Linked DNA regions of Homo sapiens: regions 2, 3, 4, 5, 6 and 7 are each linked to region 1. The links are contacts of gene promoters, found by promoter capture Hi-C in human tissues and cell types (Jung and others, 2019). All regions are on one chromosome and are shown on one strand. Each heading gives the region's core, a stretch centred on a gene start or on the middle of the fragment in contact. The rest is flanking DNA. Distances are from core to core; before and after follow the strand shown. Region 1 holds the start of KLRG2 (killer cell lectin like receptor G2). Region 2 overlaps LOC107986854 (a long non-coding RNA gene). Region 3 overlaps KDM7A (lysine demethylase 7A). Region 4 overlaps KDM7A (lysine demethylase 7A). Region 5 overlaps PARP12 (poly(ADP-ribose) polymerase family member 12). Region 6 overlaps PARP12 (poly(ADP-ribose) polymerase family member 12). Region 7 overlaps TBXAS1 (thromboxane A synthase 1).

Evidence for each region. Contacts are between HindIII fragments. The study calls those that stand out against the background at their distance.
Region 2: a contact is called between a fragment that was not itself captured here and the fragment with the promoter of KLRG2 in region 1, in 1 of the 25 tissues and cell types used here (IMR-90 fibroblasts).
Region 3: a contact is called between a fragment that was not itself captured here and the fragment with the promoter of KLRG2 in region 1, in 2 of the 25 tissues and cell types used here (IMR-90 fibroblasts and lymphoblastoid cells).
Region 4: a contact is called between a fragment that was not itself captured here and the fragment with the promoter of KLRG2 in region 1, in 2 of the 25 tissues and cell types used here (dorsolateral prefrontal cortex and lymphoblastoid cells).
Region 5: a contact is called between a fragment that was not itself captured here and the fragment with the promoter of KLRG2 in region 1, in 2 of the 25 tissues and cell types used here (IMR-90 fibroblasts and lymphoblastoid cells).
Region 6: a fragment that was not itself captured here is called in contact with the fragment with the promoter of KLRG2 in region 1 in 2 of the 25 tissues and cell types used here (mesenchymal stem cells and thymus).
Region 7: a contact is called between a fragment that was not itself captured here and the fragment with the promoter of KLRG2 in region 1, in 5 of the 25 tissues and cell types used here (aorta, dorsolateral prefrontal cortex, lymphoblastoid cells and 2 more).

The regions. Positions count from the first base shown.
Region 1 is chr7:139,482,115-139,485,597 of GRCh38, forward strand. KLRG2 (killer cell lectin like receptor G2) reads right to left here and starts at 1,559. Exons shown (of 5, transcript NM_198508.4): 1 at 772-1,559. The coding sequence starts at 1,528. RefSeq lists an enhancer at 719-798 and silencers at 929-1,208, 1,669-1,728. The HindIII fragment of the contact is 6,160 bases long and covers 1-3,483 here.
Region 2 is chr7:140,242,025-140,245,507 of GRCh38, forward strand. The region is part of intron 1 of LOC107986854 (a long non-coding RNA gene); the gene reads left to right. It also overlaps the pseudogene RNU1-58P. Among named protein-coding and RNA genes, the nearest start is that of KDM7A-DT, 67 kb to the left of the region's middle. RefSeq lists a silencer at 1,405-1,699. The HindIII fragment of the contact is 3,739 bases long and covers 1-3,483 here.
Region 3 is chr7:140,125,260-140,128,742 of GRCh38, forward strand. KDM7A (lysine demethylase 7A) reads right to left here. Exons shown (of 20, transcript NM_030647.2): 5 at 2,183-2,324; 6 at 1,378-1,564. Among named protein-coding and RNA genes, the nearest start is that of KDM7A, 50 kb to the right of the region's middle. RefSeq lists an enhancer at 107-607. The HindIII fragment of the contact is 5,645 bases long and covers 1-3,483 here.
Region 4 is chr7:140,100,918-140,104,400 of GRCh38, forward strand. It overlaps KDM7A (lysine demethylase 7A), which reads right to left. Exons shown (of 20, transcript NM_030647.2): 12 at 1,034-1,243. Among named protein-coding and RNA genes, the nearest start is that of PARP12, 40 kb to the left of the region's middle. The HindIII fragment of the contact is 3,256 bases long and covers 192-3,447 here.
Region 5 is chr7:140,043,341-140,046,823 of GRCh38, forward strand. All of the region lies in intron 5 of PARP12 (poly(ADP-ribose) polymerase family member 12), which reads right to left. Among named protein-coding and RNA genes, the nearest start is that of PARP12, 18 kb to the right of the region's middle. RefSeq lists a silencer at 2,855-3,055. The HindIII fragment of the contact is 4,828 bases long and covers 1-3,483 here.
Region 6 is chr7:140,025,551-140,029,033 of GRCh38, forward strand. PARP12 (poly(ADP-ribose) polymerase family member 12) reads right to left here. Exons shown (of 12, transcript NM_022750.4): 9 at 3,063-3,138; 10 at 1,726-1,856; 11 at 647-798. Among named protein-coding and RNA genes, the nearest start is that of PARP12, 36 kb to the right of the region's middle. The HindIII fragment of the contact is 6,744 bases long and covers 1-3,483 here.
Region 7 is chr7:140,007,832-140,011,314 of GRCh38, forward strand. All of the region lies in intron 10 of TBXAS1 (thromboxane A synthase 1), which reads left to right. Among named protein-coding and RNA genes, the nearest start is that of PARP12, 53 kb to the right of the region's middle. The HindIII fragment of the contact is 5,138 bases long and covers 1-3,483 here.

The sequences.
Region 1 (3,483 bases), core at 309-2,808:
TACCCTGTGGTCCCACTCACTATCTACTGAATGGATGAGTGTTTGGGGCTAAATGTTCCTCAGTGTGGTGGAAAGAAAGCAGCAGCCTGGACCTTCCAGAAAGTCCTTGGCAGTGCAGGGATGGGGGGATCTGGGCTGCCACCCCTGCCACCTGATCCTGAATGACTTCCCCTCATCTGGAGTTCCTTCCACTGCTACTTCTCAAAGGTGCTGCGCATGCTAAGAGGGAATTTGAAAGTTCGGGAGTGCGGGTAGGGGAGGATGAGAAGGGGAGTGGCTTTACTCTTTTTTTTTTGAGACGGAGTTTCTCTCTTGTTGCCCAGGCTGGAGTACAATGGCATGATCTCGGCCCACTGCAACCTCCGCTTCTCGGGTTCAAGCGACTCTCCTGTCTCAGCCTCCTGAGTAGCTGGGATTACAGGTGAATGCCACCATGCCAGGCTAATTTTTGTATTTTTAGTAGAGACGGGGTTTCATCATATTGGTCAGGCTGGTCTCGAACTCCTGACCTCAGGTGATCCGCCCGCCTCGGCTTCCCAAAGTGCTGGGATTACAGGCGTGAGACACGGCAACAATGTGAATTACAGTTACGTAGACAGGAATGTTATTGATTGTAAGCCCGAGAGGCCAGATCGGGTTGGGGATCGGGATGGCCAACTGGGTCCCTTAGTCGGTCAGCTGCCCAGCGGTCCAGGGCTGGGCGGGTGTGGGGGTTTCGGCTACGTCCACCCGACCTGGCGGCGTCGGCTGCCGGCGCAGGTGAGCACTCACCCGTAAGCGTTACGGCCCGGGGCAGCTTCTCGTCGCCGTCCAACCCCGCGCGGGGCAACAGCGCCGCATCCTCCTTCTCCAGCCCCAGCTCCTTGCAGCGGCAGCACGTGGGGGAGCCCGGGGAGCCGGCGCTTCCTTCCGCGGGGCTGGCCCGGCCCTCTGCGTCGCAGCCGCTCTCCGTCCGGGCTGCAGCCAGCGGCGAGCGGCGGCCCCACGTGCCGCCCTGGGATGGTGCGCGCAGCAGGAGCTGGTGCGCCGGGTCCGCGTGGCGGGAGAAGGCAGGGGACTCGGGCACCGGCACCTTGAGGAAGCGCGTGGAGGGCCTGGGCGATGGCGTGCTGCTGCCACCGGCCGCGCCCACGGGCTTCACGCGCACATCTACCTGCAGCTCCATGGGCGCCCAGGCGCTGGGCGCAGGCTCAGCCCCGGGCGCCTCGCCATTCCGGGGCAGCTTGACCAAGGCAGGGCCCGGTGACGGCGGCTCGGGGCAGACCCCGTAGCCCAGGCTGAGCGGCGGCACGCGCGGGGACCCGGGGCGAGGCGAAGGCGGCTTTTTCTTGCTCGAGGGCTCCAGGCCTGCGCCCGCCGCCTTCTCCACGGCCCCGGCCGGACTTGGGCTGCTTTCGGGACCTTCAGGTTGTCGCACCTTCGCGGGCACCTGCGGCTGCTCCAGCGTGGGGACCAGGCTTCCCACGGGCTCCATTGGGAGCTCTGCCCCGGCTTGGCCTCCGGGCGCAGCCTCCCAAGACTCCTCCATCCCGCGCGCCCCGCCACCCGGAGACGCTGAGGAGCGCACCTGGGCCCAGTGCAGAGGAGCTTCGCTCTCCTCCGTCCGGATTGGTCCAGCCGCGTCGCCGAAGTTGTCAGGCCACGCCCCTCCCCGAAGGACCCCGCTGTGATTGGCTGTGGCTGAGGTTCTGCTGCCCCGACCCCCTTCGGGACACAGCCCCGGCCTCCACCAGGCACTGGGAGGGAGCTGAGAACGGCAGCGGGGCCAGGCGAGGGTTGCAGGGTGGGCGGGAGCTCTCGGGAGAAAAGCAGAACACCAGCGGAGGCTTGTGGCAGGGAACCCGGAGCCCCGCCTGACCCTTCCCTCTTCTTTGTCTCTGACCTCACCCATTTTCCCCTCCAGCCCTATGCCGGGGTGTTGGTTTTGAGAGTTACAGTTTGGGCGGGGAAGGATTGGCCAAGCCTGTCTGGATCCTGGGACCTCAGAGAAATCAGAATCCAAAGGAATTGGGGCGACCTGTGGAAAAGTAGCCCAGTTGGTTGTCCTGACAATCCAGCAGGGTTTCGAAAGGACTCTCCATCATACTTGGGAGGACTCCCCCACTGAGTAACGCTAAGAGAAAAGAAACAGGGCGTGGATAAGCAATTCTTCTTTTTTTTTTTTTTTTTGAGACGGAGTCTTGCTCTGTCGCCAGGCTGGAGTGCAGTGGCCCGATCTCGGCTCACTGCAATCTCCGCCTCCCAGGTTCAAGCGATTCTCCTGCCTCAGCCTCGTGAGTAGCTGGGACTACAGGCACCCACCCCACCACGCCCGGCTAATTTTTGTATTTTTAGTAGAGACGGGGTTTCACCATGTTGGCCAGGATGGTCTCGATCTCCTGACCTCGTGATCTGCCCGCCTCGGCCTCCCAAAGTGCTGGGGTTACAGGCGTGAGCCACCGCGCCCCGCCTGGCCTCTGGTATTTTTAAGTGCCCCCAGGGTAGGGTTGGCAGATAAAATGCAGGCCACTCAGTTTAATTTGAATTTCAGTTAAACAAGGGATAGTTTTTAGCATAGTAGTCCTCCCTTATCCACTGGGATAGTTCCAAGACCTCCCAGTGAATGCCTGAAACTTTGGATAGCACCAAACCCTATATATACTGTTTTTTTCTATACAAGCGGTCTTCAAAAGGTTCATGGAAAATTCATACTATGAAAAAAACTATGCATGGATTTGAAAATTTTTTGGCACCAAAATAAATTTGTACTAACTTGTTATCACATGTCTCGACAAGATCTAGTTTGAGGCACTAAGAAGGATAAGACATCAGTTTGAAAAGAGCTCCTGTCAGAGCAACAAGGATTCTGCTAAATTTGAAGCAAGAATAATCATCACATTTATGGTGACATCATTGATATTTTTATGAAAAGCTCATGGGGACAATGCCCCCAAGAAACCAGCAGTTTGCAAATGGAAAACTCGTTTTAAGAAGGGATGAGGCCAGGCGTGGTGGCTCAGCCTGTAATCCCAGCACTTTGGGAGGCCGAGGCAGGTGGATCACTTGAGGTAAGGAGTTCGAGACCAGCCTGGCCAACATGCTGAAATCCTGTCTCTACTAAAAAAGCAAAAATTAAGCTGGGCGCGGCAGCTCACGCCTGTAATCCCAGCACTTTGGGAGGCCGAGGTGGGCGGATTGACTGAGCTCAAGAGTTCAAGACCAGCCTGGGCAACACAGTGAAACCCCGTCTCTACTAAAATACAAAAAATTAGCTGGCATGGTGGCATGCGCCTGTAGTCTCAGCTACTCGGGTGCCTGAAAATACAAAAAATTAGCCGGGCGTGGTAGTGGGTGCCTGTAATCCTAGCTACTCGGGAGGCTGAGGCAGGAGAATTGCTTGAACTCGGGAGGCAGAGTTTGCAGTGAGCCGAGATTGTGCCACTGTACTCCAGCCTGGGTGACAGAAGGAGACTCCATCTCAAAAAAAAAAAAAAAGAGAAGGGA
Region 2 (3,483 bases), core at 477-2,976, 760 kb after region 1:
TTCCCCTACTAATGAAGGACAAGAAAAAGGAGACTGTCCTGGAGAGATGAGGACTGAGAAACCCAACCCAGCCCCTGGCTCCAAGGAGTCCCGGCCCAGCCCTGGAGACAGCCCTTATCAGCTGCCATCCCAGCTTCCTGTTTTTCAGTGGGCTGGGGACTGGGGCTGAAGGAACATCTGCTTCTGTTTATTCTTCCCCTTTATCTTAATGGGTTCCCTGAGATGGCTCCCTGGGCCACCTCTCACCACTGCTCTGCGTACTCAGGTAGGTAGTGCTCCCTGCCCTGGCTAAGACCCAGGAAGGGAAGGGGGAAGCATGGAGAGGCCAGAGACTTGGTGCCCTGGGATTAAAGCTAGTTACTAAACAGGTCTGGGACTTAAAACTGGACCCTAAAGTCAATGTAGAGAAGGGGAAAAAAGAATACAAGGCAAAAGACTGTCCTCCTAAGAGTGAAAGCAGGAAATGGGCAGGTTGCTGGGGGCAATCTTAGCTGCTAAGAGAAATATAATTACTTTTCAATTTCGGTTACACCTAGGCTAATAACCACAACTGGAAATTCTTGTTGGGAGAAGGAAGTTTTTTCTCATTAAGAGATAATAGAAAGTCATTCACCCTTGAACCTAGAACAGTCAACTTCAAACTGAAAGAACTTGACTCAGCTAGGGCCTCTGCTAGCCTGCAGTGCTTATCTGCACCTCTGTGCAGATTAGAAAAAGGTGCTCCTCTGTCCAAGCAGTCACAGCCCCCAGTTTGGCAAGTGTCCCCCTCCCTATCCCCTTCCCCAGCACCCTATGACAACGACAACTTGGCATAGTTACATTATCATAGCAGCTTTCTCTTCTCCCCTACTAACACTTTCATTACCCTGGACAGCTTAAGCTCTGAATGGACTGTCCCAGAAGCACAGAAAAGACTTGTAGGTGAGAAGCTGGAAGGGCATTCAACATTCCCTTGGTCCAAAGTCCCTGCTCCAATTCACTTCATGATAAGGCTTCTGGCTGAGTTGTAAGAAAGCTTTCTCCTCATATTCTGGGTCGATCAAGATCATTCTAAACTATGATTACTGGCAATTTAGAATTAATGAGAAAGGACAGAGCAAGACTCTGTCTCAAAAAAAAAAAAAAAAAAAAAAGGCAGACGCGGTGGCTCACATCTGTAATCCTAGCACTTTGAGAGGCCAAGGCAGGCAGATCACCTGAGGTCAGGAGTTCAAGACCAGCCTGGCTAACATGGCGAAACCCCATCTCTACTAAAACTACAAAAATTAGCTGGGCGTGGTGGCTCATGCTACTCAGGAGGCTGAGACAGGAGAATCGCTTGAACCAAGGAGGCAGAGATTGCAGTGAGCTGAGATCTTCCCACTGCACTCCAGCCTGGGCAACAGAGTGAGACTCTATCTCAAAAAAAAAAAAAAAAAAAAGGGAATTAATGAGAAAGTTTCCAGATTGTACTCAAGGATTTCTTTCCCTAAATTTTGCTTAATACCTGTTACCTTAAAGCATGGTTTTTGTTTTTAAAAATGTAGTATTATCAAGTTCAATGCTGCTTAAGGAGTTTTCTTCTTTTGTAGCCAAATTGTCAATAGATTATGGTGGTTCCAAGCTTGGGCTTTGTTATCAGAATGATTAGAGTTCCAATTGCTAGCTCCTCCTCTTGCCAGCTGAGAGGACCTGGGCAGTTTACTTAACTTCTCCACACCCTGATTTCCTCATCTATAAAATAGGGATAAGTAACATAACCTACTGTAAAGAATTAATGTGAATTAAATGAGGATGCATGGAAACGTGGCCCAGTGCACAGCACTTGATCAACAGTAGCTACTGTTAAGCTAATTTTAAATGGGTAAGGAATGTGATACCATTATTCTGTTTTCTTTCTTTTTTTTTTTTTTTTGAGACAGAGTCTTGCTCTGTCACCCAGGCTGGAGTGCAGTGGCACCATCTCAGCTCACCGCAACCTCCACCTCCTGGATTCAAACGATTCTCCATGCCTCAGCCTCCCAATTAGCTGGAACTACAGGCGCTGCCACCATGCCCGGCTAATTTTTGTATTTTTTTAGTAGCAATGGGATTTTGTCATGTTGGCCAGGCTGGTGGAATGTGATACCACTACTCTAGGTAATTGAGAGGATGACCATGTTTTCTGCCCCTTGGAAAAATGGTGGGTCCCCAATCTGGGGCAGGGAAAGTGAGCCTAGGACATCAAATTGTGCCAGAAGACAAAGAAGTGTTCCAAGACAGCAACCAGCTTGAAGGAAATTTTACTGGCCAAATTTAGTCAATCTGAACATCAAAATAAATACTCACTATAGTTGATAACACATTTTTTTTTTTTTGAGATGGAGTCTTGCTCTATCGCCCAAGCTGGAGTGCAGTGGCACGATCTCTGCTCGCTGCAACCTCCACTTCCCGGACTCAAGAGATTCTTCTGCCTCAACCTCCCAAGTAGCTGGGACTGCAGGCACGCGCCACCACGCCTGGCTAATTTTTGTATTTTTAGTAGAGATGGGGTTTCGCCATATTGGCCAGGCTTGTCTCAAACTCCTGACCGCCTCGGCCTCCCAAAGTGCTGGGATTACAGGCGTGAGCCACCATGCCCGGCCTGATTTTTAAAAATCAAGCCACAATTTTTAAAAATCTCTAGTGATCTTCAAAACAAGGAATAAAGGAAGGGAAATACCAGCTAATAAAACTGAAAGGAATGATAGAATTGGAAATCACTATTTGGCAACCCCCAATTAAATAAAGATTTTTGATGAAACCACTGGACAGAAGGTTATGGAAGAGCAAGATATTCACATCGGACTAAAGTATTACCTGCAGATGACTTGCAAATTACCAAAGGGAAAATTGCCCTTTGCAATGGAGACAGCTGGTGGTCATCACCTTACCAAAGTGATCAAACTCAGCCAGGCACAGTGGCTCATGCCTGTGATCCCACCACTTCTGGAGACTGAGACAGGAGGACTGCTTAAGGCCAGGAGTTCGAGACCAGCCTTGACAACATAGTGAGACTGTCTCTACCAAAAAATAAAAAATTAGCCAGGCATGAGTGGCACTTATCTGCAGTCCCAGCTACTAGGGAGGTTGAGGTGGGAGGATTGCTTGAGCCCAGGAGTTCAAGGCTGCAGTGAGCTATGATCATGCCACTGCACACCAGCCTAGGCAATAGAAAAAGACCCCATCTCCAAAAATAAAAATAACAACAACTAAGCATCGCTAATAGTGCAGCTATTATGCACTTATGCACTTTCTGATGTGATGTAATCTGAAATACTTAATACTACCAGCTATGAATTATTCCTGCCATATGTGATAAACATGAATCTGATCAAGCCTCATGACTTAATGGTGATAGAGGAACAAGTTTCACCAAAAGGATGAAAAGACAAATGCAAGGCCGGGCACGCTGGCTCACGCCTATAATCCCAGCACTTTGGGAGGCCGAGGCAGGTGGATCACCTGAGGTCGGGAGTTCAAGAC
Region 3 (3,483 bases), core at 705-3,204, 640 kb after region 1:
ATAGCCCAGAACATTGCTGAGGCACAAGCATTTGATATAGATGAAGACTGACTTTCTACATCAGTACTCTCCAATACAACTTTCTGTGCTGATGGAAATTTTTTGTATCTGTGCTAACCAACACAGTAGCCATTAGCCACATGTGGCTACTGAGCACTTGAAATGTGCCTAGTATAAACGAGGAACTGAATTTTTAATTACATTCCATTTTAATTATTTAAATTTAGTCACACATGGCTAGTGGCAACTGTTTTGAACAATGCAGCTCTAGATAAAGCAAGGTGAATATAAATTGCAAATAACTGGTCTTTTGTTTTGTTTTTTTGAGATAGGGTCTCGCTCTGTTGCCCAGGCTGGAGTGCAATGGTGCAATCACAGCACACTGCGCCCTCAACTTCCTGGGCTCAAGTGATCCTCCTGCCTCAGCCTCTTGAGTAGCTGCGACTACAGGCATGAGCCACCACACCTGGCTAATTTTTTAATTTTTACTTTTAGAGACAGGTTCTTGCTCTGTTGCCCAGGCTGGAGTGCAGTGGAGTGATCACGGCACACTGCAGCCTCAACTTCCTGGGCTCAAGTGATCTTCCTGCCTCAGCCTCTTGAGTAGCTGTGACTACAAGCATGAGCCACCATGCCTGGCTACTTTTTTTATTTTTATTTTTAGAGACAGGATCTCGCTCTGTTGCCCAGGCTGGAATGCAGTGGTGCAATCACAGCACACTGTAGCCTCAACTTCCTGGGCTCAAGTGATCCTCCTGCCTGAGCCTCTTGAGTAGCTGTGACTACAGGAATGAGCCACCATGCCTGGCTAATGTTTTTATTTTTATTTTTAGAGACAGGGTCTCACTATGTTGCTCAGGCTGGTCTTGAACTCCTGGGCTCAAATAATTTTCCCAGCTTGGCCTCCTCTCAAAGCGCTGGGATTATAGGTGTAAGCCACTACACCCAGCCAAGAACTGGTATTTTTATAGGCATTCCTGACTTATCCAACAAGCTATCCTAGCCCAACATTAAGGCCAGAAGCAATTATTACTGTAATTTTGCTCCTTCACAGATATTTAATTCAGGGATTAAAGGATAATTAACTAGGGGAAAAAAAATCAAGAAGAGACAAAAGCCTAAAAGAAACCAACTTAAAAGATGAGGGCAGAAAGTAAATCTAATATAAATTTAAAAGTCATGGCTCTTCCATTATTTGAGATTAAAAAAAAAAATCGTAACGTTTAAAGGCAAAGTGACAGTTCCTGGTTAAAAAGTAAAAAAAAAAAAAAAAACTTCCCCCTTTACAAGTAACATTTACAAGAAATGAATATACCACTGAAAAACTAGGGCTATATGTTTTTGTCAGTGAGAGAACAAAAAATACCCCAATCTTACCCAGAGGACATGGTACCAGACTGAAGTTCCACCGAAGTCAATGTGGAAATCTGTATAGCTGTCTTGAACTCCCATTAAGCAATATTTCTGAACAAATGGCTTGGGAAAGACTGAATCATCTGGCCAATAATTTTCCACCCAGGAAAGTTTTTTGGCTATATCAGGGACCTCCACCAATTCAGACATCCTTTCAAAAAACAAACATACACACACACCCACATCATGCAAATTAAAAATTCTTAAGAATTGTTTTTCTCATCTATTCCCAAACCAAATAATTAAATGGAACTTAAGGTTAACAACAACACTTAAAAGTTTAAAACACATGTTTGTTTGTTTTTGAGACAGAGTCTTGCTCTGTCGCCTAGGCTAGAGTGCAGTGGCGCGATCCTGGCTCACTGCAAACTCCATCCTGCCGGGTTCGAGAGATCTCGTGCCTCAGCCTCTCTGAGTAGCTGGGATTACAGGCATGTGCCACCATGCCCAGCTGATTTTTGTATTTTTAGTAGAGAGGGGGTTACGCCATGTTGGCCAGGCTGGTTTTGAACTCCTGGCCTCAAGCGATCCACTCGCCTTGGCCTCCCAAAATGCTGGGATTAAGGCATAAGCCACTGTGCCCAGCCAAAAGTTTAAAATACATCTTATTTCTAAGTATCTCTGAGTGTCCCAATGCAAAATTTATAACATTGCTACCACTGGACAACTTTAGAAGTCACAACTATGTTTCTTCCTAAAATAAATACATCATTACACTACATTTAGCTAACACTCAGAATGCTAAACCAAAATACCCAGAACTACTCACTTTGTATCTGAAAATTCAAGGCTGATCACATTTAACACTTTTGGTCTGTTAGGATTCATGAAGTATTTAACATAATTGTGAAGTGTCATTTTGCTGTCTGCCTGCCTCGCCACATCAATGACATCTATCACTTTGTCACCACCTGCAGAGAAAAATTACAGTCTTATTATTGGACTTAAGAGTTACATCAGCAGATGCTCTAATCAAAAAATATTTTAACTTGGTATGATAATTAAACCAACTATAAAACTATGTAGTCTAGACAAATATTTTCCCTATACTCTTAATTTCTCAAGTTCAACTGGACCTTTCAGGAAAAAAGGGACATTTTTCAGAGGAAAAGGAAAGCAGTAAGACAGAGCTGCACAATTTACACTGAATATAAAAGTGTATATGGCTTACAAAGCTTTCTGTATACTAATGATATCTTGGTGTACAGCTCATAATGACAAAAAAATACATTATATTGGCATGTAGAAATTGTGCAACACTGTCTGGATTTCAGTTTTCTCAGGCATAAAATGAGGAGACTGACTTTTCCCTTTCACTTTTGTAACACCTAAAATATTCTAAGGCTATCATTTCAAAAAAAAACACATCACTCATTGGGGAATTAGCATGCAAGTTGACCAGGATAATTTCTGCCCTCCTGATACTGTCTTCTAATATTCTCCTTTAAGAAAAAATTAGTGATTGGGAAGCAAAAATCAGTTCACATTAGTACCAGTGTCCGAAGGCCTGAGTTCCAAATTGTGATTAATTTACAGTTTTCGTATAAACCCATGAAGTGGTGTTTACAGACCACTGCACTGCTACACTAGGAAGCATAATTAGTTTGACAATGGACTATGGGATAAGGTAGAATTCAAAATATGGCAATACTTAACCAATCTGAAATAGAAAACAAATAAATGCCATTTTCTTACTTTAATGCAACTTCATATAGGTTAAGAAAGTCTTGCCTTATAGACTTCTTTATCATCAGGAGGCAACACGGTTCTGCTCATAGTATTTAACTGAAGTGCTCTGCAGTACCAAAAAGTTAGCTATCAAGCAGTTTGAGCATTTTTTTCCTGCACATGTATTACACTAGCTATTTGTTTTGCAGATGCTATCTACGCAAATAGGTTCAGGTTAATCCTTAGCCCCATCCTCTCACTTGTCAAATATTCAAATTTAGCTGAATGTGAAGTTACAATACTTAGTTAGATTTCCTCAGTGAAACAATAATCAATGAGAATTGTCAACCAATGGCTCGATAAAGGGACAAGTTCTCAGATATTCCATGCTGAGGAGATAAT
Region 4 (3,483 bases), core at 570-3,069, 620 kb after region 1:
GCCTGGCTAATTTTTTGTATTTTTAGTAGAGACGGGGTTTCACCGTGGTCTCGATCTCCTGACCTCGTGATCCACCCGCCTCGGCCTCCCAATTTTTTTTTTTTTTAAGCCAGGATCTAGTTATGTTGGCCTTAAACTCCTGGGCTTAAATGATCCTCCTGACTTAGTCTCCTAAGTAGCTGGGACTACAGGCCCACACCACAGCACCTGGTTCTTCGATCTTATTCATTTAAAATGGCTGCTTATCCTCTTCTTGGGATGTAAAAGTATGGATGATGCAGAGCTCACTACAAAGTCACTACCATGTTCTGCAAAGGCGCTACACTGATCTCATTACTACCTCCCACTCTCCCCTTTGTCCAGTAGGCCAGCACTTCACGAAGTTTAAGAGTTTCTTCTGACAGTCTCCCAGTCTAACAGTCCTCCAGGCTGACTGCTGGCTCAAGTAGAGGCTTTCTGCATTTGCTCTTCCCTCTGCCTGTAATGCCATTCCTCCAATCACCACGTAACCATTTGACTTCTTCCTATTTGTTACTCAGCTGTCGGTTCAAACCTGAGAGGCTCTCTGACCACCTTAGCTAAAGCAGCCAGCTTTACCCCATCCCCCTTTATTCTGTTGTTCTATTGTTTTGGGTTTTTTTTAAATAACGCTTATCATCTGAAATTGTATTATTTTAGTATATGTCTCTGTCTCCCCATCCTTCCAGCTTGAACTAGGATGGAAGCTTCATGAGGGGCAGGGACTTAAGTTTTGCTCACAATCTTCTCCAGAGCCTAGAAGAGGAAATGGTACTTGCTAAAGACTCAATAAACATATCAGCAATCGAATGAGGTCTATTCATTCAAATTCTACACTAAAACTTAGAAAGATTAAGCACCACTCCCTGTCACAGGCATAACTACTGGTTGATCCCTACAATGCTGCAGCCAAGATTAGATATCAACAATAGTCAAGACTATTCTCTTATTATCCCTATAAAGACTTTAAGGAACAGCCAAGTTTCTTTTTGTTGTCATGAAACATAATACTTGCCTCTTCCCATGGACACATCTCTAATCTTTTGAGGACCTCCCTTGTGTGGAGCTCTAGGATGTCTAGGTTAGAAGGAGTTCGGACATTATGATCTCGAAGTTTCCTCATCTTTCTTCGGGAATGGTATGGGGAAGTTGCTTCATTTGAGGATCGTGAAACTGGACACACAATAGGAATTCCCTGAGATTTAACTGGTTTGCCGTTTTCCTCCTTTAAGAATTAAAATCAGAGTATTTTTATAAGAAGGCTGTTACACACATACGTGACTAAATAATCATCCATAAAAATATTTCAGAAAACAAAAACCATTCAGTTTAACCATATAAACACAAAAAAGACTAAATCCTAAGCTTCAAACAGCTTTGCTGAGAACTTTATATCCCTTCTCTCTCCAACATAATATACTGTGAACATACTTCCTTGATTTTTTTTTTTTTTTTGACACAGGGTCTCGCTCTTGTCACCCAGGCTGCAGTGTGTGGAGTGCAGTGGTGCAATCTTGCCTCACCGCAATCTCCACCTCCTGAGCTCAAGCGATCCTCCTACCTTAGCCTCCCAAGTAGCTGGGACTACAGGCGCACGCCACTGCACCCAGCTAATGTTTTAGAGACAAGTATTTGCCATGTTGCCCAGGCTGGTCTTGAACTCCTGAGCTCAGGGGATCCACCTGCTTCGGCCTCCCAAAGTGCTGGGATTACCGGTGTTAAATTAGCCACTGCACTGGGCCTTGATTTTCAATATCTTATTAAAGGCTGTGTTGCATTCCACTGTTAATTTTCTGACCTAATACTTACTGGTAGCCATTTAGGCTGCTGTTCTTTCCGACAATGAACATTCTTTTCACGTACATATTTGAATAAATTAAGAATTACTTTTTAAACTAAAATTATACATCTATGTAGTTTTAAAAATTAAATATTCTATAAGCATATCATGAAAAATAGCAGCCTCCTCTTCCCCATCCCTCTCATTCTCCAGAGGCAACCACTTGCAACATTTTTTTACTGTGGTAACATAAACATAAAATCTGCCATTTTAACAATTTTTAAGTGTACAGTTTAGTGGCATTAAGTAGAGTCACAGTGTTGCACAACCATCACTGCCATCCATCTCGAGAAGCTTCTCATCTGCACAAACTGAAACCTGAAACTGTACCCACTACACAATAATTTCCCATTCTCCCTTCCCGCCAACCCCTAGCAACTACCATTCTACTTGCATTCTCTATGAATTTGACACTTCTAGGAACCTCATATAAGTGGAATTTTATAAAATTTGTCCTTTGGTGACTGGCTTATTTCACTTAGCAAAATATCTTCAAGGTTCATCCACGCTATACCATGTGTCAGCATTTCCTTTTTTTTTTTATTTTAATTATTATACTTTAAGTTCTAGGGTACATGTGCACAACGTGCAGATTTGTTACATATGTATACATGTGCCATGTTGGTGTGCTGCACCCATTAACTTGTCATTTACATTAGGATTTCTCCTAATGTTATCCCTCCCCCCCCCTCCAACCCACGACAGGTCCCAGTGTGTGATGTTCCCCACCCTGTGTCCATGTGTTCTCATTGTTCAATTCCCATCTATGAGTGAGAACATGCGGTGTTTGGTTTTTTGTCCTTGTGATAGTTTGCTGAGAATGATGGCTTCCAGTTTCATCCATGTCCCTACAAAGGACATGAACTCATCCTTTTTTTGGCTGCATAGTATTCTACAGTGTATATGTGCCACAATTTCTTAATCCAGTCTATCATTGATGGACATTTGGGTTGGTTCCAAGTCTTTGCTATTGTGAATAGTGCCACAATAAACATACGTGTGCATGTGTCTTTATAGCAGCATGACTTATAATCCTTTGGGTATATACCCAGTAATGGGATGGCTGGGTCAAATGGTATTTCTAGTTCTAGATCCCTGAGGAATCGCCACATTGACTTCCACAATGGTTGAACTAGTTTACAGTCACAACAACAGTGTAAAAGTGTTCCTATTTCTCCACATCCTCTCCAGCACCTGTTGTTTCCTGACTTTTTAATGACTGCCATTCTAACTGGTGTGAGATGGTATCTCATTGTGGTTTTGATTTGCGTTTCTCTGATGGCCAGTGATGATGAGCATTTTTTCATGTGTCTGTTGGTTGCATAAATGTCTTCTTTTGAGAAGTGTCTGTTCCTATCCTTCGCCCACTTGTTGATGGGGTTGTTTGATTTTTTCTCGTAAATCTGTTTGAGTTCTTTGTAGATGCTGGATATTAGCCCATTGTCAGATGGGTAGATTGCAAAAATTTTCTCCCATTGTGTAGGTTGCCTGTTCACTTTGATGGTAGTTTCTTTTGCTGTGCAGAAGCTCTTTAATTAGATCCCATTTGTCAATTTTGGCTTTTCTTACCATTGCTTTTGGTGTTTTAGTCATGAAGTCATAGCCCATGCCTATGTCCTGAATGG
Region 5 (3,483 bases), core at 631-3,130, 560 kb after region 1:
TGCAGATATACGTGATATGTTTTTTAAAAAGGAATTGAGCATCAAAAGTATGAGTAAGAATCAAGAGACTATAAAAACTGACTGGGTAAATTTAAGGAAAAAAACAGAACTTTTACTATTCATTATTCTTTTCTTTCTCCTCCACTCCCTCCAAAACTTTTTTTCTTTTCCTTTTTTACTACTTTTTTTTAATTTTTTATTTTTTGAGACAGAGTCTCACCCTGTCACCCAGGCTGGAGTGCAGTGGCATCATCTCAGCTCATCGTGATCTCCGCCTCCCGGATTCAAGCGATTCTCCTGTCTCACCCTCCCGAGGAGTAGCTGGGATTACAGGCATGCACCACCACGCCCAGCTAATTTTTGTATTTTTTTGTGCAGACAGAGTTTCACCATGTTGGCCAGGCTGGTCTTGAACTCCTGGCCTCAAGCCATCCGCCCTCCTCAGCCTCCCAAAGTGCTGGGATTACACGCGTGAGCCACTGCTCCCGACCTTAGAACTTTTAAACATAATTAAATTAACTGAAATTTAAAAATCATACTTCGATGGGACACACTGCATCTCAGAAGAGTCTGAACTAATGAACTGAGAGCCTGAGAGGAAGAAATGTGGCAGAGTTTAGAAAGAGAATAAAAGAGAAGTTAGAAGACATAAAAGATAAAGTGAGAAGACTTCACCATATATCTAATGAGAATTCCAGAGAAGGAATACTTAAGGAGATCATGGCTGAGGAAATCAGAAAGCACAGCAAAATATGAGTAGCATAAATTTTTTTAAATCCACACACAGATTTTAGTGAAACTGCACAGCACCAAAGAATGACAAGATATTAAAAACAGCCAGAGAGAAAAAAACAGACTATCTATTATACTGGATTGAATTGTGTCCCCAAGAAGATATGCTGAAGGTCTAATCCCTGGTACCCATGAATGCGATCTTATTTGGAAATAGGGTCTTTGCAGATATAATCAAGTTAAGATGAGGTCATATTGGATTCGGGTGGGCCCTAATCCAAAACTGATGTCCTTTTAAGACGAGGGAAATTTGAACACAGACACATGGGGAAATGCCTGTGACAATGGAGGCTGAGATTGGAGTGACGCGTCTACAAGCCAAGGCATGCCAAGGATTTCTAAGCATCAGAATCCTGGAGGAGGCAAGAAAGGATCCTCCTGTAAAGCCTTCAGACAGAGCAAGGCCCTGCTAACACCTTCAGTTTGGACTTCTAGCCTCCAGAACCGAGAAAATAAATTTCTGTTGTTTGAAGCCATCAAGTTCATGGTAATTTGTTACAGCAGCCCTAAGAAGTGAACTAATACCACCTCGATTTAGGCTGATAGCTAACTTCTAAGTAGAAGCAATGGAATCCAGACAACAATGAAATAGTCTTTGAAGAACTGAGGGAAAATACCCAGTAAAACTATCTTTCAAGAATGAGAAGGGAATAAAAACCCTTTCAGACTAACAAAATACACAATTACCTCCAGACTCTCATTAAAGCAACCTCCAACAGAGGAACTTAAAGAAAGAAAATGATAAACAAGGAGAAGTGTGAGCAAAGGAATGGTGAGTAAGAAACAAAATGGTAATTGTGTAAGCTTAAACAAATACTGACTGCCTAAAACAATACGAATTTCTAACCTCTAGGATTAAAAATATTATATCAGCAATACATACAGTGCATCTTTTTCTTTTTTTTTTTTTTAATAGAGACAAGATCTAGCTCTGTCACCCAGACTGGAGTGTAGTGACACAATCATAGCTCACTGCAGCATCAAACTCCTGGGCTCAAATGGTGCTCCCTCTGCAGCTTCCTGAGTAGCTGGGACTACAGGCACGCGCCACCATGCTCAGCTAATTTTTTTAAAAATTTTTGTAGAGACAAGGTCTCTTTATGTTGCCCAGGCTAGTTGTGTATTCCCAGCCTCTAGCAATCCTCCCACTTCAGCCTCCCAAAGCACTGGGATAACAGGTATGAGCTGCTGCGCTCGACCCACATCTTATGTGCCTGGCAGTGATCTGAGTGTTTTATGCATATTAACTCATTTAATTCTCAAAATAACCTTGTGACGTAGAAACTATTATTTTGTCTACCTAACATATAGTAAAGCTGAGGTAAAATGAGATTAAGTAATCTGGCCAAATTTATATAATTAGTAAATAAGTTTGAATGAAACTAGTCAGAATTCAAGTGTCCAAGGTTCTTTCATTGTTTGACAGAATGACAAAAGGCACTGATTGGCTTAAGCTCAGCTAAAAGTCTGTTAAGATAAAGAGTCTGTTTAGATTTCCAGAGCAGCCACTGAAAAAATAAAAATTCAGTATATAACGTCCAAACTAGTAAAGGGAAAAAACCAAGTGAGGAAAAAAATCTACAAGAAGATCAAAAAGAGAAAAGAAATATACAAAAAGTGGGTCACAGTGACAATTATAATGAGTGGCAGAAATAAATCCAGATCCACGTTATTGGCCACCTGTGCTTCCTCTGCCGGGAAGTGTCTGACCTTGTAGTTTGCCCATTTGGAGGGTGAAGAATTTGAGTGAAAGAGGCCAGACACAACAGTACATACCACACGGTTCTATTTATATGAGGTTCAAGAACAGGCAAGACAGAGATCTATGGTGACAGAGGTCAGAACGGTGGTGAACGATGGGAGTAGGCACTGACTGGAAGGAGATGGGGTGAGGAAAATGATCCGTATCTCAATCAGAATGCTGGCTACACAAGTGTATGTATTTGTCAAAACTCACTGAACTGTATGCTTAATATCTAGGCTCTTCGCTGTGTGTAAATTTTGCCTCAAAAAGAAAGATTGGGGTGGTATGTGAACCATTTAATCCTCCTAACAGGAGTAATTGGTTTCACATACTTTACCAATAGCAATTTGCACGTAATTGTACTCTAAGTGCAAATTTATTTTACACACTCAAAAAGCAGGCTCAAATTCTCTTCTTGGCAACATATTTCAGCAAGTTCAATGAAAAATATGTTAAGTATCTGAAAAGAAGGCTATCCGGGAATCCCCTATTTACTCTGAACTAACTAAGGGAAAATACTAGGACATGCTTGGGGAAAAAAAAAGTTAAAGGTTAAACCATAAACAGCAGTTCAGCGGTATGGCTGTATAGGCCAAAGGCCAAAATTTCACAAATAGAAATTATCACCTCTCGCTTTTCTGTAATAATGAGTATAGATGTACATGATCAATCCCAGCACCAAACAATTGAGAACTTAATACTTGGTCTTGGTACCATCTTCTCCTTTCCCCATTGCTCCTGTCTGAAAGGAGAGGGAGGTGGGAGAACAAAGCCACCAAACTGCCAGTATGAACGCTGACTTTCGATTCCAGCCCACCTTCTACCTCCAGACTAGGTGGCTCACAGTGTGTGTGTGTGTGTGTGTGTGTGTGTGTGTGTGTCACACACAGAAGCCCAGGCACCTCCAGACTAGGCTGCTCACAGTGTGTGTGTGTGTGTGTGTGTGT
Region 6 (3,483 bases), core at 589-3,088, 540 kb after region 1:
AAGGGTGAAAGGAGACAATATATGCCACCTACCTGAAAATGGTGCAGAAAGAGAGAGGGAGAGAGAAAGAGAGAAGTGGCAGCATGTTAAAACCAATGAACGCAGGTAAAATTTACCCAAAGAGGTTTTTTTTAATTATTATTATTCCAATTTTCTTGAATTTCGATTTCCAAAGAAATAGTATTTTAAAATTTTCTTTGGCAAGTTTAAAAATAACAGACAAGAAAACACTCAGATAACTCACGTGATAGCTAGAATACATGTTTACATGAGTATCTCTGAGGGTTTCTGGTTTCTATTCTAAGGAAATCAATAGTAAAGGCACAGTCAGGGACTTCATCAGGGCTGGGAAGGTATCCCCTCTCCTCTCCCGTCTCTGTCACCATCTCCCAGGGCCTCTGCTCCACAGGGAAGCAACACCCCAGCCTAGGCAGGCCACCCTGCCCACACCTGGGGCCAAGCTCCTGACCATGCCCAGAGGAGCAAGAGCAAGGATGTGACTGGTAGCTGTGCCCAGGTACCACCACACATGGAGTCTGAACCTGCTCATCAGCTCAGGCTGGTCCCCTCATGCCCTCTAGCAGTCTGTTCCTATGCAGGGGCAAAGCAACATGGGTTTTGCTGGTGGAGGCCAGTCATGCCTTACCCTTGCCGTAGGAAGTGCCATGAACACCACAGACCCGCCAGTCAAAGTTCTGCTGGCAGATGGCGTCCACAAAAATGGCGCTGGTGCCGTGGAACAGCTGCCGCTCGTCCACGGCCTTCCCTCCGTTCTGCTTCTGCATCTGTCCTTTTTGCCTAGAATCACAGAAGAATGTGTGCTGGGGGCAGAGTGTGCCGGCCACCAAATACAGCCGGCCTGATGCAAAACAACACATTTTTCCAAAATTCCAAAAGTGTCCTGGGACCAAGAGACGCAGGTCACAGGCTACCCTGACTAGGCCTGTAAGCTCCAGCCACAAGCCAGGGTGTGGAAAAGAAGGGGGATCGTGGGAGCTGGGTGAAAACCCTCCCTCCACAGCTCCAGACAGCAGCGGTTCCCTGGACTCCAAAAGCAGAGCAGCCCTTGGAAAATGGGTACCATTTCCCCCAACCCCACCCCCACCTTGCTCCTGCATGGAGCTGAGCCCTGGGATGCTGTAGGAATTTTCAGGCTGCTGGTCAGTGGGTGCCCATCCTTCTCCCCTCTCCCATTCCCAGACTTCATCACTGTGCACAGAGTACACATTACACTACCCCAACCCCATCTGGGGACAGGTCAGCAAGACCCAGCCTGCCATGGTGACCTATTGTAGGATTCCTCCCCACATAGACAGGTGAGTGGGTGCTCAAGGACAAGCCAGTCCTCATGTATGAACCTGAGACCCCTGCTGTCTAGCCACAGCCTTATGTTCCTGGGGCTAATGGTGTGGTGGGCTGTACTGACCCATCCCACTGGTCTCCAGGAAGGCAGAATGGACAAGTGAGAGTGCTAGCTTTGCCACCACTCATGAACGGGACCAGGTGGTATGCTCCAGGAAGCCTCGGTGCCCTCATCTCTACAATGGGATGTGCTACCACACTGCCCTGGGGGAGCGGACGAAGGAGAGCAGACACACAGCTCCCAGCACATGGCAGCCCTAACTGCCGCTCTGCTTTTCCTGGAAACCCGGGCCACATGTGGCAACCAGCCAGTGGTGTGAAGGGACAGAGTCACCAGCCCACCAAGAGCGAGCCCCAACGCACCACTGGTAGACTTCCCAGAGGGCCAGGTTCTGTACTCGCTCAATCTTCTGAACAAAGTAGAAAGGCAGCGTGCGGTTAAAGAGGTTCCAGACCTTCTGATACTCTTCCGAGGAAGAACTAAGGGTGATCTTCTGCAAGGGGCAAATGTTTTTAATGCATTACCATCAACGTGCAGAATATAAATCAGTCCCTTCCCAAAGCTTCTTGTAAACACTAGAACCGCAGAAGCACAAAAGCCCAGAGAGCAGTGACCACATTCTCCTGTGGTTTCTCCAGGCACAGGAGACAATCGGTCCTCATGAAATGTCATTGATAGGTTCTTGGAAACTGCAATTTTAAGTAAAACAACAAACCTCTTGTTTATGTCAGTTAGCATATGGGAAATTGGTTTCGTTAGACAGTATGTTGTGCCACTTTAAGTCAGTTTCCAAGAACCTACTGATGATGTTGAGGATTTACTATGTTTGCAAATTGTAGTCACTTTGCTCCTCATCACTGTGAAACCAATCTAAAGGACAGACACGTGATGCTTAAGCCACCATCGAGGGTATCCCCTGGATGTCCCTGCCTTTTTTTTTTCTTGTCCCACACAGGTCAAAGACACAGGTTGGACTACATGGTCCAAGGACCACAGAGTCGTCTAGACAAACATGTTGAACCCCTTTAGGTCCTTAGCACTTCTTGCCTGCACTGTTGGCATCTGCATGTGCCTTATACAAGCTCAATAAGTCCTCCCAGGACAGGGACCGTCACGTTTTAAAGCTGAGTTAGACAGTGCTCGGCAGCCGGCCAGCTGGCAGACATCAGCCCAGGTGCAGACGGGCAGCCTCAGATGTTAGTCTGCGTACTCTCCTGCACTCAGCACAGCTCCCACTGGTCAGAGCCCCTCAACAAGCTGCCAAATTGACTGTCCATTCTCCTGTCTGCTAGTCGTGAATGCCTTCCCTCCTGACAGTAACCCCATTCCAAATGTCCATCGGACTCAGGTCCTCCCCAGGCTGCTTCTCCTTTTCTCGCTTAATAAAATTGGTATTTATTGGTTAAGCCCAGCCCATAAACTCATTTCTGCCCTTTCTAGCAAATTTCACGCTCATCCTCCTCCCTCCACAAGACAACCCCTCCCCTCAGAGCCACAGCCAACTCCTGGGTGGTGAAAAAACAAAACCCTCTGCAAAAAACAAAAACAAAAATAAAGCCCACATCTGTCACTGCCCTCCTGCCCCAATTAGCCCCAGCCTTACAGCTTCTTCAGTGTTGAGGAATGGCACAGTCTGTTCACACACACCCACTTCTACAGAACACCTTCCTGTCCAGCCCCAGGCGCATGCGTCCCCTACCTGAAAGCCTGGGTCTGGCAGGGCAGAGGAGTCCCAATAGTCTGGGATGCTCTTCGGGCCTGGAAACTTGGTATTGCTACAAAAATGTAAACAAAAACACGTAGACATTTTATTCTTACACAAAGCAAATATACCATAGGTGGTCTCTGCTAGCCAATATCACCAGTCTTGAGTCTCAGCACATCATATTTCAAGAGCAGGTAGAAGGCAAGGAAGAATGTTAGCACGATATTCACAACATGAGAGCACTTTTATCTTTGCCTATGTAGCCAAACTCCAAACAGTCCTGAGAGATCTATTTCTCGCCTGTGTCCCAACTACCACACAAAAGGGATAAAAGGGATGGAGTACATGGTTAAAGGAGCACACACACAGCCATAAACCTTTATCCACAATTCTGAAATTCTAAGAGCTCTAAAGA
Region 7 (3,483 bases), core at 308-2,807, 530 kb after region 1:
ATCTGCCACTCCATGACATTTCACTAATGTACACACCAACCAGCCGGTCACACCAACCTGTGGGTATCTTGAGAGCAAAACCAACTATTGTGCTTCGTTCAAACTCTCCCAAACAAGGCACTCCATAGAGAAGGGCATCTTAATTCATGTCCCCAGACCCCTACAGAGAGTGAAGTAACAGCCAGATTTCAGGCTCTAGAAACAGAAGCAGCACAAAGCATTAACCGTATGTGATAAATTCCACTCAACACTTTTATGAATTAACAGATCACATAAACCATATGGAAATACCTTTCACCATTTTTAAAGACAATATGTGGATGATTTGAGGGTATCTCAAAACGATATTTCAACACAAAAGCATTACAAAGAATGCAATTGTAGACATTGTCCAAATGTTCAAGTCCAGAAGCAAATACAGAAAATTCCGGTGGCGTGATTCGAACTGCATTGTCCTCAAGCACACAAGGTTTTGGGTCTCAGTGTGGAAGCAGGCCAGTCACTCAGGGGCTCTGTGCCCCCTCTCCCCATGCCAGCATTAAGACCTGATGTGCAGCCCTTCCCTGATCTCCTTTGGAGCCTCTTGCAAACTGTCATCCAATTCTTTCTTTTATTCTTTTTTTTTTTTTTTTTTGAGATGGAGTCTTGCTCTGTTGCCCAGGCTGGAGGGCAATGGTGTGATCTTGGCTCACTGAAACTTCTGCCTCTTGGGTTCAAGAGATCCTCCTGTCTCAGCCTCCCAAGTAACTGGGATTACAGGTGCCCGCCACTATGCCCGGCTAATTTTTTGTATTTTTAGTAGAGACGGGGTTTCACCACGTTGGCCAGGCTGGTCTCAAACTCCTGACCTCAGGTGATCTGCCTGCCTTGGCCTCCCAAAGTGCTGGGATTACAGGCGTGAGCCACCAATCCCAGCCTTATTTTTTTCATAATTGATATCCAGCTTTCTTCCAAGGGGATTGTGGGAAGCTGGTGTACATGTTAAAATGAAGTTCAAGATAAAGCATTCAGGGATCAAATAGAACAAAGGCCATTTAAAGGAAAGAAGGCCTTACAGGGCCCCAGAGCTGGCTGGTAGCTGGGGTCCAGCTGTGGCTTGGTGACCAGGGCTCCTGGCCAAGAGGGAGAGCAGCCAAGCCAAACAGGTGTGTTCTCCAGCAAGAGGACAGCACAGAAACTGATCAATGGACACAGTACTTCCTGGACCTAAACTCAGCCACGAATCCATCAGACAAGACCTTATTAGCTGTCATGTTGAATAACAAAGGGGTTAGGCTCTTCAACATGAAAATGCGGTGGCCGATTCTCCACTGACCCGTTATAAACAGCAGAGCAGAAAAGGAAGTTGGTGCAGGTGGACCAGGAAGCTGGTGATCTCACCTGAGGACCAGACAGAAACTAGAGAACCTGGGTGAAGTAGTTAGAATTCATCTAACAGGTCTAGAGGGCACGTCAGAAGACCATCTTGGCCCTGGCCTTGGCATACTGCGTGATCGTGAGCCTCATGCTGCTCCGTGCCTCTCCTTCCTACGGGTTAAATGGGGACACACACCTGCTTGGCTGGCCCTGCAGAAGCAGGCAAGAGGCAGTGGGTGGCACAGGTGGAACTGTAGTGCCCGCTCAGCTGCCTGCAGCATGATGTGTGCAGGGAGGAGCGCCGGCACTGGTCGGACAGTGGAATGGACAGCTTCCATCCAGCCTCGCTCTCCTGAGCCGCCCCTTCCCCACACATGCCCCACACCCGCCCCACACCTTCCCCACACCCACCCCACACCTGCCCCACACCCGCCCCACACCTGCCCCACACCCACCCCACACCTGCCCCACACCCGCTCCACACCTGCCCCACACCCACCCCACACCTGCCCCACACCCGCTCCACACCTGCCCCACTCCCACCCCACACCTGCTCCACACCTCCATACCTGCCCCACACCTGCCCCACACCCGCTCCACACCTGCCCCACACCTCCATGCTGGCCCCATACCTGCTCCACACCTGTCCCATGCCCGCCCCACAGCCGCCCCACACCTGCTCCACACCTCCATGCCCGCCCCACACCTGCCCCACACCTTCACACCTGCCCCACACCTGCCCCACACCTGCCCCGCACCTGCCCCACACCTGCCCCGCACCTGCCCCACACCTGCCCCACACCCGCTCCACACCCGCTTCACACCCGCTCCACACCCGCCCCACACCTCCACACCCACACCACACCCGCCCCACACCTGCTCCACACCCACACCACACCCACCCCACACCTGCCTCACAGCTGCTCCACACCTGCTCCATGGGCATTTTTCACCCTATCAGCTCTGCTGGCTTTTCTTATTGATCACCAGATATGAGAGAGACAAGGTGTCACAATTCTCACCCAGACCAGAGGACAATCTGCTTCTGCTCAAAGGATTTGGGGGTGAATGTAGGGAGAGTGAGCATTTTTATTTTATTATTTTATTTCATCTCAAAAAGCGTGTTGACTTTTCCCAAGTGCTGACACAACTTGGACTTACTCATAAAAGAAAATCAGAATCGCCCTTGTGGGAAACACAGCAGCCCTGTCTGAGCGCCACTGAGGTGACTCCCGGATGCTGTGCGGTGCAGTTCTGAAGCTTCTGTTGATCTCTTATGAGGTTCAGTTTACGGGGAAGGGAAGGCCCTATTTTCCAGCTTCCAGGGGGTCTGCCTCCAGGTCCAGGCTGTTTCCAGAAAAGAAGAACAAGCAGGGTGCCAGGGAACAGCTTCATCTGACCCCTTTGGAACTGCGGGTACAGACATCACAAACCCCAGCTGCCTGCCCTGGTTTCAGTGCTGGTGTTTGCTATCAGCTCCAAGCACATATAATTGCATTAGCAGCTTAGCATCTCAATGGGTTCTCCACGCCCTGGCCTTTTTCTGTTCCTGTCTGTTACATGAAAGGCTCATAACAGAGAGGGAGCAGCAAGAAGCCACAGGCTGCTTTTAATCTCTTACGGGCAGGAACAGGGCATAACAGTAATTACTGTAATCATTGCATTTCCTTTAGGATATTTAGGGAAGTCCAATCCTACAGCTTGAAGTAAAATCCAGCATAGAATTATTTTGAATTTTTAATTATTTATATTGCCAAAATAGCATGCTTATACAAACAAAACAAAACCAAAAAAAAAAAAACAGTCCCGGCCGGGTGTAGTGGTTCACACCTGTAATTCCAGCACTTTGGGAGGCAAGGAGGGAAGATCACTTGAGTTCAGGAGTTCAAGACCAGCCTGACCAACATGATGAAACTCTGACTCTACTAAAAATACAAAAATTAGCCGGGCATGGTGGCAGAAACCTGTAATCCCAGCTACAAGGGAGGCTAAGGCAGGAGAATTGCTTGAATCTGGGAGGCGGAGGTTGCAGTGAGCCAAGATAGTGCCACTGCACTCCACCCTGGGCGGCAGAGCGAGACTCTGTCTCAAAAAAAACAAACAAACAAACAAACAAAAAAAACAGTC